Linked DNA regions of Homo sapiens: regions 2 and 3 are each linked to region 1. The links are contacts of gene promoters, found by promoter capture Hi-C in blood cells and fetal thymus (Javierre and others, 2016). All regions are on one chromosome and are shown on one strand. The core of a region is centred on a gene start or on the middle of the fragment in contact, and the rest is flanking DNA. Distances in the headings are between cores, read along the strand shown. Region 1 holds the start of XIRP1 (xin actin binding repeat containing 1). Region 2 overlaps SLC25A38 (solute carrier family 25 member 38). Region 3 has its middle 15 kb from the start of CCR8.

Region 1 (3,153 bases), core at 330-2,829:
CTTCCCTGGCCAAAGGAGTCTGCACTGGGGGGAGGTACTGGAAGTAAGTGGGGCAGGACTTCCTCCCTATGGCTACCTCAGAAGGAGGAGAGAGGAAACTGAGACCTGCTGACCCCATGCCCACCCTGGCATGTCCACCAAAGACATCAGAACCTTTGGGGAATGTGAGCTCTGAAACCTGCAGCCTGAGTCTCATCAAAGCTCTGGGTGGTTTTCTTTCATTTCTGAGCTCCAATGAGGATCCCCTGCCCAAGGCAAACCTGAGCCTGTCTCCACCTCTACTCCATCCTGTCACCACCAGGGTGGCCTGAGCAGATGGTGTGTGCACACCATCAGCTTCACCCCACCCCCGCCCCCAGGAATTTCCAGAATCTCTGCTAAGGCCACAGACAGTTATTATCATGGAGTCCAGGGATGTCAGGCCTAAGGACCCTCAGAGGTCACTCAATCTAAACCCCTTATTGTTCAAATAGGGAAACAGAGGCCCAAAGAGGGGAAAGGAGCTGTCCAAGGAGGCTCAGCAAGGCAGTAGCAAAGCCTGAAGCATGTCTCCTGACTCCTGGCCTTCCCACCACCATCTTTGCCTGGCTTGAGACTGCTGGGACAAGTGTAGAGTCAGGACAGAATTCATAACTGGGACCAGACTTACGTGGGGTGAGCCCCAAGAACTGTCCTAGAGCTTGGTCTCCTAGGGCTGGGCCAGCCTCTCAGGATGGTCCCCCTGCTGTCCTCGGGTCACCTCCTCCTTGGCCCAGCTGGCTCCATATGTCTTTACATCTGGGCAAATTCAGATCTGGTCTCCCTCCCGTGAGCCCCCCAAATCTGCCCTGGGGGCTTTCCCACTGGGCAAGACTATGGACATGGGCAGAGTCCGAATTCCACCCCAGGTTTTAGGCTATGATATGTAGGGAGCTGGGCTCCGGCCAGCCCCTGGGAGCTATCCCTGGGCCAGATATGCCAAGAGTGTCATCCACAACAACTAGGCATGGGGCTTGTTCTAGCAATGCACACTCAGGCCTACTTACAGCCCCCTGCCCCCACCTCTCTCCTGTTCCTCCTTCCTCCAGATCCTGGGCCTGCCTGAAGCTTCCCTGGGAGGAAGCCCTGAAGCCTGAGGCACTCCATACCTGTATTTTAAAAATCACAACTCCAGGCCTTTCTGGATCATGCCAGCCTGGCAGGAGCCTATCCTTTCTGCTAGCTTCAGGCCTGTGGCAGCCACTCTGAGAGCTCCCATGGGGCTCACACTGTCTTTACCTCCTTTGTGGGTTCTTTATGTCTGAGACTTCCACTCACCTCCTCCCATGCATGCCCCTCAATCTCCTTCCCCTACTCAGAGCCATTCCTAATACGTCCATTTCAGAAGGAGAGGGGATCCCAGCTGTGAAAGCCAGCCTTGCTGTGGAAGGATGGAGAGGTAGGTTACTCACCAAGGGTCTCTCTTGGCTGATGGGGTGTTTGTGGTCTGTAGCAGCTGTGGTCTCAGGGTTCGTCGTTCCTCTGGAGGTTCTTGTTCAAATTGGTTCTGTTCTGCTGGCTCCAACAGACACCTTCTTGCTGCCCTGGCTCCAGGTCTCTGTCCCCTGCCAGCCCCAGCAGCTGCCTTTATCTTGCTGGCTAGTGGGTGGGCCGTGGTGGGGGCGGGTGGGAGAGGCTATGTTCCGAGTATTAAGTGGTTCGGTTATTTTTAGGTCTTGTGGAAGTCACTCTTCCATCCTGGGGAATCAGTTACATGTCCTTTGGGCTGGGGAGGGGAAACAGAGGGGGAGAAGCTTCATTCATCCAAAGTCTGATCTGGGGATTGGGGTCAGTGACTCAGCTGGGTTGTGAGGTTGGGGGTGTCCCAGACTATTTTGAGAGAGTGACTAAGAAGAGGCATCTGACACCTTGGACAGCTTGCTCCCGTCTTGTGAGCCCCCATCATTCTACTCTGGCCCTGCCTCTGACTCTTCCTGACGTGTCTCCACCCACCGTGCCAGGAGACTGGAGGTCTCCTGAGGGCAGGCTGGGCACCTCCTCCTCTGTTCTGAGCCTGGATACCTCTGAGTGTGATGCTCAGCTCTCTTTCTTCCCCATTCCCTTCTGCACTAAAGAGTTCCTTCTTTCTTATCCATTCCACCCTGTGCCCCACAGCACAGGTCAACACAGCCCCGATGAAGCTGGATTTGGGGGGAAGACATCTGAATGACCAGGCCCAGCTCTTCACTGGGCCGAGATTGGCCAGGCCCAGCTCCTCCTTTGCACCACTACACCCAGTTAATTTTTGTATTTTTAGTAGAGATGGGGTTTCACCATGTTGGCCAGGCTGGTCTCGAACTCCTGACCTCAGGTAATCCACCTGCCTCGGCCTCCCAATGAATGAATTCCACAGCAGGACTCTATGGTTTTCATTCCAGATTATCTGAGTCCTTTCTTCTCGACTCTTCCCTCTGACTCAGGGCCCAGGCTTTCTGGGAATGGAGGGGAGGGGAAGGGCGGCATGCAGGGAGCTGACCGTGGGGTTATTTCTGACCCTGGAGTCATCAGCTTCCCAGTCACAGATGGAGTGGCGGCGGGGGTGGGGGGGTCACACCTGCCTCCTCCTTTGCTTACCAGGGCGTGAGGGGCCCAGGAGGCCCAAGAGATCCTGGCAGTCAGACCAGTGTGGTGAAGGATGTCAGGGGACCATCTGCAAAAAACTCGAAAGAGGTGTTTTGTCCTAGGTGGGCCTGGCCCAGGCTCCATGCCTGTGGGTATGCAGGTGCATTCTGTGGCCTGGCACATGAGGTCTTCCTTCTGACTCCCCAAATGCCCTCTGGTACCAGGGGGTGATGCCAGACATTGCTCACTTTTTCCATGTAGTCAATGTCAGTCCTGCAGCGTCAGCTGGGATGGGGGTAAGGACATCTGGGAACCCCCTCTTCCTGGTCTCCCTCCCTCTTGTCTCTTCCCCTGCTCTTTTCTAGCCCTCTGCCTGTCCCCCAGGCTCCTGGCTCTCTCTAGGAAGGGCAGGGAGACCGATGTACCAGTGTTTCAGGGAAAGGGCAGCCTTAGGTTTCTCAGGATTTCTCCTGGGAGGAGCTTTCTCCCTGTGGGTACTGAAATTTCTTACTTTCTAGGATAGTTTTGAGAATTGAAGGAATTATTATATGAAAAGAGTGCCTCCAGCCAGGC
Region 2 (3,153 bases), core at 217-2,716, 200 kb after region 1:
GCTACTTGGGGCTTAGTGCTTCTGTACAGTATACAAACTGCACAAGTACACAGCAACCCTGCATAAAGACTTTCAGCTAAGAAATCCCCCTAGATAGAGCAGCCTAAAAAGGTAAGCCCAGCAACTACAAAAAAAAAAAATGGTTTTTGGCCAAGCGCGGTAGCTCACGCCTGTAATCCCAGCACTTTGGGAGGTTGAGGTGGGCAGATCACAAGGTCAGGAGTTCGAGACCAGCCTGGCCAATATGGTGAAAACCCCATCTCAACTAAAAATACGAAAATTAGCCGGGCGTGGTGGTGGGCGCCTGTAGTCCCACCTACTCGGAAGGCTGAGGCAGGAGAATCGCTTGAACCCAGGAGGCAGAGGTTGCAGTGAGCCGAGATCGCGCCACTGCACTATAGCCTGGGCGACAGAGCCAGACTCTGCCTCGGAAAAAAAAAAAATTTTTTTTAAGTTCTTTGGTTGTCTCCTTGGACCCATTATTCTTACTTTGGGCATAAAGTTTAGAAACTAAGTCTTAAACATGGGATAACAGAGACCCTCACTGTGGTACCAAGTGGATAATTAATTGTATTGCTACTTTGCTTCCAGAGTTCTGACATTTATTTTCACCATAGGACTATGGACTACGTGGCTTCTTCCAAGGTGGCATCCCCCGAGCCCTCCGCAGAACTCTAATGGCAGCAATGGCGTGGACGGTGTATGAAGAGATGATGGCCAAGATGGGCCTGAAGTCCTGACCAAGAGAGGACTGGGAACGGGTGAAATCTGTTGCCCTGCTTGGTTTCTGCCAAGGGCTGCTGCTTCTTACTATTCTGCAGTAAGATGAAGTCCTACCTGGAAAACCAGGCAGAAATTGTGTTGCCTTTGCCTTCAGTAATCCCCTTAAGGAGAAAATATATGGACCTGATTTCAGCCTTCAGAATCTCCAAAAGAGGAGTCATCAATTCATAGAGCACACTAGGGTGTTAGGAGAGAGCTTTGCATACTCTGAGAGGCTACTTGGAAAGGCATTTTCCCAGGAGAGCTCTGTCAGGTGGCTGCGCTTCAGCCCCACCCCTACACCACAGGGTCTCCTTGGGTATGTTCTTGGGCAAGCAATCACAAAGCCAGAGAAGCTGTAAGCTGCCTGCCGGGCCTGAGGAGCTCCAACCAGGGAAGACTGGATGTGAGGAGAGGAGTCACTGTCACCAGGTCACAGACTGACTGAGGTGATGGTAGGATGAGGAGGAACAGATGCCCTTCTTTAATTGGTTCTCAGTTAACTTCTCAGAGGCTCTGGAGAACGGGACAGTGGCTTTCTAGCCTCTGAATGTTCCAAATAAAATTTTTTGGTCTTGGCCCCTGTACTGTTTTACCTCTAAATTCTGGCATTTTTTTTTCCCTGCAATTAAAGTGCTGTACTTTATTTATTGAACTTTATCATTGAAAGCTGTTTGGAAAACCTAAAAGATGTTGTCACACTTCTGTTTTCTTTACCTGTGCCTTATAAAAATGGACCAAACCCTTTTCTAAAATAAAATAGTTCTAGGGTGGCTGGTTATTGACCTATGTAGGTCCCTAAAACCTAATTTCTGTTCAAAAAAGCAGCTTTACTGAATGATGCAACCATCACTATAAATCAGTTTAAGAACATTTTTATTCCCCAAACAGATCTCTCATGCCTTTTGTAATTAATCCTCATTCTCAGCCCCAGGCCACCACTGATAGGCTTTCTGTCTTCATAAATTTGCCTTTTCTGGATACTTCATATAAATGCAGTCTGTAGGCCGGGTGCGGTGGCTCAAGCCTGTAACCCCAGCACTTTGGGAGACCGAAGCGGGTGGATCACATGAGGTCAGGAGTTCAAGAGCAGCCTGGCCAACATGGTGAAACCCCGTCTCTACTAAAAATACAAACATTAGCTGGGCGTGGTGGCATGTGCCTGTAATCCCAGCTACTTGGGAGGCTGAGGCACGAGAATCACTTGAACCGAGGAGGCAGAGGTTAAAGTGAGCTGAAATCATGCCACTGCACTCCAGCCTGGGTGACAGAGTGAGACCCTGTCTCAAAAAACAAAAAAACAAAGTGACTATACCATTTTCCATTCTCAGCCACAGTATATGAGAGTTCCAATTTCTCCACATCCTTGTCAACACTTGTTATTATCTCTTTTATAGCTATTCTTATTGTGCACTCAAATCTTTTCTTGAAAATTCAGGAAAGATGGCCAGGCAAGGTGGCTCCTGCCTGTAATTCCAGCATTTTGGGAGGGTGAGGCAGGCAGATTACTTGAGGCCAGGAGTTCAAGATCAGCCTGGCCAAAACAGCAAAACCCCATCTCTACTAAAAATACAAAAATTAGCCAGGCATCGTGGGGCACGCCTGTAATTCTAGCTACTCAGGAGGCTGAGGCAGGAGAACCACTTGAACCCAGGAGATGCAGGTTGCAGATCACACCACTGCCCTCCAGTCTGGATGACAGAATGAGACTCCATATCAGAAAAAAAAAAATCAGGAAACAGCCATTACTTTATACAAGAAGCACAAGTTGGGGGGATATTTAGTCTTGTGGTTAAGAACATGGGCTCTAATCCAGGCAGCCCAGGTTGAAAGCTGCTTGCTCTCCACTACCTAGGCATGGCACTGAAACTATGCCTAGGAAATGGGGTTAGTTTGTTTTGGGGGTTTTTTAGGGGGCGGAGAACAAAGTGTCGCCCTGTTGCCCAGGCTGGAGTGCAATCGTGCAATCTCAGCTGACTGCAACCTCCACTCCTGGGTTCAAGCAATTCTCCCACCTCAGCCTTCCAAGTAGCTGGGACTACACGCTGGGCTAATTTTTTGTATTTTTAGTAGAGACAGGGTTTCACCATGCTGGCCAGGCTTGTCTTGAACTCTTGATCTCAAGTGATCCACCTGCCTCAGCCTCCCAGAGTGCTGGGATTACGGGTGTGAGCCAGCGCCCCCAGCCGGAAATAGGGTTAGTAATGTTTCCTGCCTCTTCAGGTGGTGGTGAGGGTTAATTAATAAATGTTTCTGAAATGTGGTATTAGCTTCATAGGACAGCCACAACAAGTTACCACAGTCAGAATGGTTTATAACTCAATCTGGAGGCCAGAAGTCTGAAATCAATGTGTCAGCAGCATTGCACCTCTGAAGGCTCTAGGAGAGTCA
Region 3 (3,153 bases), core at 409-2,908, 150 kb after region 1:
TTAGTACAAGGAAATACGATGCCTTAAATGAGATTCAAAAACACAAACCATACATGAAATTTGACTGCACTCTGTCTTTTCATTAATAGAAGTTAACCCAATAAGTTAATGACTTCTGTTAACTAAAAGACAGAGTGGTAGACGCTATGATGTTCAGAAATAAAGAATTTATTATTCCAGCTTCTGGGAGAGCCACCAGAAGGCATTGCTTAGCTCTCAGTCCCTTTGGGGACTGCCTCTCTTGCCTCCTTCAAAGGGTGGCCTGCATCGCATGATCAACAAACATGAAGGTATAAAGTCCCAGCTCCTCATTGCAACTTGGAATTGCTTTGAAGGATAGGGTCAGCTGAAGTTCCTGTTGAGACTACAGTGCAGCTCTCCCTCTGCTCAGTCCTGCTTTCTTCCCTTCCCCTCCTTTCCCAGGTGTTGATTGCAAAAGTACTTTCAAAGAAACTTCCTGCACACTAGTCTCCATCTCAGAATCTGCTTCTTTGGATATCCAACCTGTCACAGACAAAAGTAGATAAGCAGGCCTTGGAATGGGAGAAGAGTGTGAGTGTGTGTGTGTGTGTTTGTGTGTGTGTGTGTGTGTAGAAAACAGGAGGGATTGATTCATAGTTGAGTCATTTGTTCTTGATTATAGCACTCAACCTGCAAATTACATTCACCTCTTGGTAACAAAGGGGAAACTTCCTCTTCCCTGAGCCATTTCACTCAGATGGAATTATTCCTGGGTAATCCTTATCTATATATCTGCCAGCAATTGCCCCTTTCCTTTCCCATAGTAATATGTAAACTCTTTCTTATCAAGAATAACTGGAGAATGATGTCTTTAGTTCAGTTGCATAGCCATATACAATAGAGAACCTCTGACTTTTCAATGGATTTGATATATTCTGAAATCCAGATCAATATCTCACTTTATTTAACTTGTCTTTGATGATCCCAAAGGCATTTGAGAACATTATCTGGCAGTGTCTCAGAGTTACTGATTTTCTCTAGATAGTATTAAAATTTATAGGTTTGTTAAGTCTGTCCTAACCCTGGGTGTTCATTCTGAAAATAATTTATTTGAATCAGCAGGTTTTGATACATTTTTCTCTATGCCATTCTGTAGTCTCAAAATGAACAAAACAGGAAGATTCCTTTTGCTCATCCATAGTTTCTGAATTGTCAGTAATAAAAATGTATTACTTTTGTAAGGAAAGTTATAAAATTCTAACAAAAAATTAAAAGTAAAATATAGGGTGTTTAGATCTCAAGTAAGCAGGAGCTTTAAGACATAGTTCTGTTTGACCCCATGTCTTTAAGTGGTGATGCAGGGTGGCCTGGGTGGATGCTGTGCATGCAGTGGGCATGCATTACAATCGAGGAACCTCATGCTTTGGAAACCCAATCTTTTAAAGGAACTGCTAGCAAACTTGTCCTGGAGGGAGACATTATTTTCCTGACAGCAGAGAAATCTATCCTCACTCCAAAAAGGGACAGTATCTTACAAGATATTTTGCTATACAAAAAGCCAAGAAAAGTTAGTCCAGAACAAAAGCTGTCAATGCCTTCACTCAGAAGATGGGTAGAAACATTAGAGACTCATTGAGACTTGATTCCCAGGAGGCATACATGTCTAAACTAAATAAAGACCTTCTACATACTAATATGAAAAAGACAGATAATCAGTAGAAGGATGGGCAGGGAATATCAGCAGACAATTTTTGAAAGAGGAAGTCTAAATGGTCAAAAAGTGAAAGAATACATGCTCAACTTCACTAATAACTAGGGAAATACACATTAAAGCCATGATAAAATATCACTATAAACCCATCAGAATGGCTAAAACTTAAAAACTAACAATATTAAGTGTTGGAAAGGATATGGAAGAAGGGAACACTTATACACTGCTGGTGAGACTAAGTGATCCAATCACTTTAGAAAACTGTTTGGCATTATTTACAACACTTGAAGATACACATGTCCTATGACCTACCAATTCCAATCTTAGGTATAAATCCAATAAAAATGCATGCATATGTGCACCAAGAATGCTTATAGGGACATGATTCATAACAGCTCTTTTATGGGTTGAATTGTACCCCCCCAAAAAAGAAAATATGATGAAATCTTATTCCCTGGTATTTCAGAATGTGATCTTATTTGGAAATGGGATGTTTGCAAATCTAACCAAGTTAAGATGAGGCCATTAGGGTAGACCCCAGTCCAATATGACTAGTGTCCTTATAAAAAGTGAAAATGTGTACACAGGCACACACAGAGGGAAGATGATGTAAAGCCACACAGGCAGAATACATGTAACAAGGATGGCAGAGATTTGAGTTATGCAGCTGGCAGCCAAGGAACACCAAGCATTGCCAGCAAACCACCAGAAGCTAGGAAGAGTCAAGGAAAGATTCCCCTACAGGCTTCAGAGAGAATGTGGTCCTGCTAATACCTTGACTTCAGACTTCTAGCCTCTAGAACTTTGAAACAATACATTTCTATTGTTCTAAGTCACCTGATATGTGGTACTTTGTTACAGCATCCATAGAAAACTAATGTAAGCCCCAAAATGGAAATAATATCTATCAATATCACATCAATAGTAGGAAGGCTAACTTCAATCAGAAATAACAATTTCTGAAATAACAATAGATAGAAATAGCTATTTAAAAATCACAGTTATGGCCTGGGAATGGTGGCTTATGCCCATAATCCTAGCACTTTGGGAGGCCAAAGCAGGAGGATAACTTGAGGCCAGGAATTTGAGACCAGCTTGGGCAATATAATGACACCCTGTCTCTAGAAAATAAAAAATAGGCTGGTTGCAGTGGCTCACACCTGTAATCCCAGCACTTTGGGAGGCCAAGGCAGTCAGATCACTTGAGGTCAGGAGTTTGAGACCAGCCTGGCCAACATGGCAAAACCCCATCTCTACTAAAAATACAAAAATTAGCCAGGTATGGTGGAGCATGCACCTGCAATCCCAGCTACTCAGGAGGCTGATGTAGGAGGATTGCTTGAACCTAGGAGGTGGAGGCTGCAGTGAGCTGAATGAATAAAGAAATAATAAAATAAAAAATAAAAAATTGCACCTACACAAAAAATCATGAATGCATCTGACAAATAAGATGTTTACCATAAGAAGCCAGACACAAAAAG

The links. Contacts are between HindIII fragments. The CHiCAGO score rates a contact against its expected background, and 5 or more counts as called.
Region 2: a fragment that was not itself captured here is called in contact with the fragment with the promoter of XIRP1 in region 1 in 2 of 17 cell types (fetal thymus and activated CD4 T cells); the score reaches 6.1 in fetal thymus.
Region 3: a fragment that was not itself captured here is called in contact with the fragment with the promoter of XIRP1 in region 1 in 1 of 17 cell types (fetal thymus); the score reaches 6.3 in fetal thymus.

What each region holds. Positions count from the first base shown.
Region 1 is chr3:39,191,016-39,194,168 of GRCh38, forward strand. It overlaps XIRP1 (xin actin binding repeat containing 1), which reads right to left and starts at 1,580. Exons shown (of 2, transcript NM_194293.4): 1 at 1,431-1,580. RefSeq lists an enhancer at 351-1,340. The HindIII fragment of the contact is 686 bases long and covers 1,085-1,770 here.
Region 2 is chr3:39,395,781-39,398,933 of GRCh38, forward strand. SLC25A38 (solute carrier family 25 member 38) reads left to right here. Exons shown (of 7, transcript NM_017875.4): 7 at 618-1,571. The coding sequence ends at 740. Among named protein-coding and RNA genes, the nearest start is that of RPSA, 9.4 kb to the right of the region's middle. The HindIII fragment of the contact is 4,026 bases long and covers 1-3,153 here.
Region 3 is chr3:39,342,917-39,346,069 of GRCh38, forward strand. No RefSeq gene overlaps it. Among named protein-coding and RNA genes, the nearest start is that of CCR8, 15 kb to the left of the region's middle. The HindIII fragment of the contact is 3,394 bases long and covers 1-3,153 here.